2 separate regions of the Homo sapiens genome follow, and region 1 is linked to region 2. The links are contacts of gene promoters, found by promoter capture Hi-C in human tissues and cell types (Jung and others, 2019). All regions are on one chromosome and are shown on one strand. The core of a region is centred on a gene start or on the middle of the fragment in contact, and the rest is flanking DNA. Distances in the headings are between cores, read along the strand shown.

Region 1 (3,131 bases), core at 428-2,927, 250 kb before region 2:
CCACAGAGGCAGAGCGGGGGAGCCAGGGAGGAACCCCATGAAACCTTGGCCCAGGAGCTCAAAATGACAGTGGGTGAGTGGGACAAACACAGAAAAGGGCCAGGAATGGAGCTCTTTCCTAGGCTGAGACAAAGACCTAAGCAGAACACTTCACTTTCCTCAAATCAAGTATGTGAAACCACCACGCGGCTCACACACGGACCAACAAGGACCCGCACTCAGGCGTCCCACAGGGGAACTGGATGCCTGTGGCCGTGCTGGACCGCAGCAGCCCCACCGCAGGGGATGAGCGACTGTGGCAGAGATGCAGGCAAAGTAGCCTCCAGGACAGAGGGGTCAGCACCCGAGGGCTGGCCCTCCTGGCACGTTCCTCCACGCAAATTCCACCCCGGTGAGAGGTGACAGCGTGCTGGCAGTCCTCACAGCCCTCGCTCGCTCTCAGCGCCTCCTCTGCCTGGGCTCTCACTTTGGTGGCACTTGAGGAGCCCTTCAGCCCACCACTGCACTGTGGGAGCCCCTTTCTGGGCTGGCCAAGGCCGGAGCCGGCTCCCTCAGCTTGCGGGGAGGTGTGGAGGGAGAGGCGCGAGCGGGAACCGCGGCTGCATGCGCTTGCAGGCCAGCTGGAGTCCCGGGTGGGCGTGGGCTTGGTGGGCCCGGCACTCAGAGCAGCCGGCCAGCCCTGCCGGCCGCGGGCAATGAGGGGCTTAGCACCCGGGCCAGCGGCTGCGGAGGGTGTGCTGGGTCCCCCGGCAGTGCCGGCCCACCGGAGCTGCGCTCAATTTCTCGCTGGGTCTTAACTGCCTTCCTGCAGGGCAGGGCTCGGGAGCTGCAGCCCGCCATGCCTAAGCCCCCCACCCCCTCCGTGGGCTCCTGTGCGGACCGAGTCTCCCCGACGAGCGCCCGGTCCCATTGACCACCCAAGGGCTGAGGAGTGCGGGCGCACGGCACGGGACTGGCAGGCAGCTCCACCTGCAACCCCGGTGCGGGATCCACTGGGTGAAGCCAGCTGGGCTCCTGATTCTGGTGGGGACGTGGAGAACCTTTATGTCTAGCTCAGGGACTGTAAATACACCAATCGGCACTCTGTATCTAGCACAAGGTTTGTAAACACACCAATCAGCACTCTGTGTCTAGCTCAGGGTTTGTGAATGCACCAATCGACACTCTGTATCTAGCTACTCTGGTGGGGACTTGGAGAACCTTTGTGTGGACACTCTGTATCTAGCTAATCTGGTGAGGATGTGGAGAAGCTTTGTGTCTAGCTCAGGGATTGTAAACGCACCAATCAGCGCCCTGTCAAAACAGACCACTGGACTCTACCAATCAGCAGGATGTGGGTGGGGCCAGATAAGAGAATAAAAGCTGGCTGCGGGAGCCAGCAGTGGTAACTCGCTCGGGTCCCCTTCCATAGTGTGGAAGCTTTGTTCTTTCTCTCTTTCCAGTAAGTCTTGCTGCTGCTCACTCTTTGGGTCCACACTGCCTTTATGAGCTGTAACACTCACCGCGAAGATCTGCAGCTTCACTCCTGAAGCCAGTGAGACCACGAACCCACCAGAAGGAAGAAACTCCGAACACCTCCGAACGTCAGAAGGAACAAACTCCGGACAGGCCGCCTTTAGGAACTGTAACACTCACGGCAAGGGTCCGCGGCTTCATTCTTGAAGTCAGTGAGACCAAGAACCCACCAATTCCGGACACACCGGGACGACTAACCGGCTCTCCACAGGATATGCATCCCCTAACACGTGAGGCCTAAGCTCCAGGCCCTGCTGTGGTAGCAATGCTCACCAGCCGCCTGTTCAGTACCCACTCTCCTTTTCCCTTTGCATTACCCGCAGCCTTCCTTTGGAGGACTGCCCCCAGCTCCCCACTGGGGAGCAGCCGTCTGTCTGGGTGGAGAACCCACTTTCCTTCAGGAGTGACCCTGCTGCACAGCCCCCAGCGCACGCACCGTGACTGTGCTGAGACAGACGGGACACAGCGGCACACGTGCCCTCCTCAGAGCAACAGCGGGCCCATCCGTCAGAGCTGCGGGAAGCATCTGTAAACAAGGGAGCCCAGAGCCCAAGGTCACTGCAGCAGCCACCTCCAACACAAAGCCCACGAAGTCGCCCACCAGGCAGGCAAAGTCAGAATGGCACAAAGCAAAGGTGCCAGGCCCTAAGGCACACCTGAGGCTCTGCCTCAACAGTGCCCTTCAGGGTTGGGCTCAGGTGGGTGGGTTTCCACGACTTCCAACCTAGTGCACCCTCACCTACACCTGGCAGGACAAAGAGAATGGTCTAAATGTGAGGAACGCAGCCTGGACTTCATGCCCTGTCTGTGCTGACAAGCAACCATTCCAACATCAGAGATCTTCAAGCCACAAGGCTGCACCACAGGCCACCTCCCACAGAGAGGATTCAACCGCAGACACGACTCCCAAGCCCCAGGGTCCTCTGCCACCAGCAGCCCCAGAGCAGTCAAGTTAGGACCCAAACTGTGTAGACAGAGCTACACAAAATTAGACAGGAGAAGCCAATGTATCCCACTAATTTCATAGCAAAGGTTCCTTATTACAAATACAGCAAACCAAGGACAGACAGCAAAGCTACTGCTCGCAGCCAAGAACTGAAGAGTGGCTGGGAGGGAGGCACTGGGGTTCCAACAGTGGAAATCAGAACGGAGCTCATTTTCCTCCTGCAGCCCAGCCCTCAACTTCAGTCCCATCTTAAAAATAACCAGCCGGGGCCGGGCGCAGTGGCTCACACCTGGAATCCCAGCACTTTGGGAGGCTGAGGCGGGCAGATCTCTTGAGGAAAGGAGTTCGAGACCAGACTGGCCAACGTGGTAAAACCCCATCTCTACTAAAAATACAGAAAATTAGCTGGGCATGGTAGCTCACACTTGTAATCCCAGCTACTCGGGAGGCTGAGGCAGGAGACTCACTTGAACCCAGGAGGCAGAGGTTGCAGTGAGCTGAGATTGCACTACTGCACTCCAGCCTGGGCGACAGAGCGAGACTCCATCTCAAACAAAAAAACAAGCAAAAAAAATAACCAGCCAGGTGCAGTGGCTCCCACCCGTAATCCCAGCACTTTGGGAGGCTGAGATCACTGGAGTCCAGGAGCTCGAGACCATCCTGGCCAACG
Region 2 (2,941 bases), core at 425-2,924:
ATGGTGGCGCCTGTAGTCCCAGCTACTCGGGAGGCTGAGGCTGGAGGATCGCTTGTGCCGGGGAGGTAGAGGCTGCAGTGAGCCGAGATCGCGCTACTGCACTGCAGCCTGGGCGACAAAGGGAGACCCTGTTTCAAAAAAGAAAAAACTGGTGCGTCGATGTGGTCGCCGCTTAGTCAGGCCATGTCTTCAGCTCTGGGGGACGGGAGGTCACTGGAGGTGTGGGGCTGCCCGTCCTGGCGTCCCTCTGTGTAAGCAGCACCTGCTCCCGGAGGCACAGCCCTGGTCGGGGCCCCTCTGGAGGAGGGTTCTTGCCGGGCTCTGCTCCTCGCCGGCGGGGCAGACGTGACGGGCTCCGCACCCGGTCTGGAGAGGGCTGCGCTGGGTCGGCGCTGACGTTACTGCTTTTACTTACGACTGTAACAGCGCTACTGAACGCAGAGCACGTATCACAAAGCTCACCCGTTCCGAGTGAGTAACTTCACCGAGAGAGGCAGGACCATCCCCACGACGGTAGGACCTTCTCGTCACCCCAGAAAGAACCACGTGCCCACTCAACCCCCGACCCCACGCCGGGGCCCGCGGACGCAGCCGCCTCGCTCGCCCACGCACCTGCGGCAGCCGGGCCCGGCAGGGACGAGGGCTCGGCGGCGCCCCCGGGAAGAGCGCGGTCCGGGCCCTGGGTCCCCGTCCAGGAGGCGCCGCTGCCGCAGTGAGCACGTCGGGCCGGGTCTTGAGCTCGCGCCGGCCGCGCTCCCCGCGTCCCGAGCTGTGGCGGCCGCGTCCCCGGGCGGAAGGCTCACGCTCGGTGACGCCGCGCTGTCCCAGAACCTCAGCGACTTTGCAGACTCACTGGTGACCCAACGGTGCGCCCCGCCGCCGCCGGGCGGAAGTCCCGCCCCTGCCCCGGAGAGGAAGTTCCGCCTCATCGAGCGCCGATTGGCCGCACCGCCTTAGAGAGGACGCGCCCGGGGCCACCCCGCCGCTCCCTCCGAGGGTTCTGCGGAAGCAGGCGGCACAGCCTGCGAGGGGCTTTCGTTTCCCGGACTCAGCCGCATCGCCTCGGCTCGGGCGCGCCTGCATCCTGCCGCCCGTCCGCGCGTTGAAGGGGCGGATACAAACAACGTGGACTTCCGAGCCCCTGATTGGCGAGCGTGTAGGAAAGGGGCGGGGTTAGCAGAGCCGTGATGGACATGCAAGCGACCCAATGGCGCCGGCGACGGGGCGGGCGAGGACAACGGCGTTGTGGGCCGGGGGCGGGGCGGCCGGCGGCTCTGGGATTTCTCTGGGAGGCAGCCGCAGGGAAGGGAATGATCTTGGTGAACTTATAATCGAACCAATGGTTCCGGGAAAGCAGGAGGCGAGTGGCCAATGGCGACGGCGATGAGGCAGGCGTCCGCTGTCTCCGCAACGCCGTGTGGGAAAGGCGGGGGAGGGGCGGTCATGACAGACGTGCAGACAGGCCAATGGCTGAGGGAAGGAGGGCGGCGGGCGACCTCTGGTGACTACGGGAAGGCAGGGCGGGGTGGTGAAGAGGCGGTGCGACCGGAGGTCTGGCGGCGCCGTGTGGAACGCCGTGAGGGCGGGGAAGTCGTGACGGACGGGCGGGTGGGCCAATGGGCTCGGGAGGGCGGGCGAAGGGTGGCCAATGGCGGCGGCGCGGCCGGGGGTGGGGCGGCGCGGCGGCCCTGGTGGTGCGGGAAGCGGCGGGGCGGCGGCGAGGCTGAGGTGCGCCCGGGCGCGGGCGGGGCGGGGCCGGCGCTGGGCTTCGGGCGCGCCCACTCGGCCGCCGTGGGGCGGACGCAACGGGCGCAGGTGCGGGGCGCGGGCTCTCTCACGCCGCGGCCTCACCCGGCGGTGCTTCGGCAGGCGGCCGGCGCGGGGCGCAGGCGGCGCGGCCATGGGCTCGCAGGGCAGTCCGGTGAAGAGCTACGACTACCTGCTCAAGTTCCTGCTGGTGGGCGACAGCGACGTGGGCAAGGGCGAGATCCTGGAGAGCCTGCAGGACGGCGCGGCAGAGTCCCCGTACGCCTACAGTAACGGTAAGGCCCGGCCCGCGGCGCGCGCTGCTACGCGGGGCCCGAGCCCGGCGAGCTGGGCACGGAGCTCGCCCTCGGCCCGGCCCTTCCAAGCGCCGCCGAACGTTCCCAGGAACGCCTTTGCCTGGCTTCCAGACTCGGTAGCTCGGTGGCTGCGGGGTGCCCGTGCTCCAGTCCCGAGGTGACGCCGGGGGGCAGGAGGACGGACCAGAGGGACGCGCCCAGCGGGGACGGTGCCATGGACCCGGGGTCTGGGGGACGGTGTCACGGGTCCGGGATCTCAGGGGAAGGTGTCATGGGTCCGGGATCTGGAGCCCAGGGGAAGGTGTCATGGGTCCTAGAGAAGGTGTCATGGGCCTGGGGAAGGTGTCATGGGTCTAGGATCATCTGGGGTCCGAGGGAAGGTGTCATGGGCTCGGGGGAAGGTGTCGTGGGCCGGAGGGAAGGTGTCATGGGTGCAGGATCTGGGGTCTGGGAGAAGGTGTCATAGGTCCGAGGGAAGGTGTCATGGGTCCAGGATCTGGGGTCCGGGGAAAGATGTCATGGTCCCGGTAGAAGGCGTCATGGGCCAAAAGGAAGGTGTCATGGGTCTAGGATCATCTGGGGTCCGAGGAAAGGTGTCATAGATCTGGGGGAAGGCATCATGGTCCTAAGGGAAGCTGTCATGGGTCTGGGATCATCTGGGGTCCGAGGGAAGGTGTCATAGATCTGGGGAAAGGTGTCATGGGTCTGGGATCTCAGGGGAAGGTGTCATGGGCCTAAGGGAAGGTGTCATGGTCTGGGATCTCAGGGGAAGGTGTCATGGGTCTAGGATCATCTGGGGTCTGAGGGAAGGTGTCATAGATCTGGGGGAAGGCATCATGGTCCTAAGGGAAGGTGTCATGGGTCTGGGATCATCTGGG

What was found. Contacts are between HindIII fragments. The study calls those that stand out against the background at their distance.
Region 1: a fragment that was not itself captured here is called in contact with the fragment with the promoter of RAB40C in region 2 in 2 of the 25 tissues and cell types used here (IMR-90 fibroblasts and dorsolateral prefrontal cortex).

Annotation. Positions count from the first base shown.
Region 1 is chr16:340,692-343,822 of GRCh38, forward strand. The region is part of intron 2 of AXIN1 (axin 1); the gene reads right to left. Among named protein-coding and RNA genes, the nearest start is that of AXIN1, 10 kb to the right of the region's middle. RefSeq lists an enhancer at 774-1,325. The HindIII fragment of the contact is 5,555 bases long and covers 1-3,131 here.
Region 2 is chr16:588,392-591,332 of GRCh38, forward strand. RAB40C (RAB40C, member RAS oncogene family) reads left to right here and starts at 1,675. Exons shown (of 6, transcript NM_021168.5): 1 at 1,675-2,042. The coding sequence starts at 1,901. RefSeq lists enhancers at 1-195, 318-1,191 and silencers at 536-845, 1,166-1,225, 1,236-1,285, 1,356-1,475, 1,566-1,885. The HindIII fragment of the contact is 16,228 bases long and covers 1-2,941 here.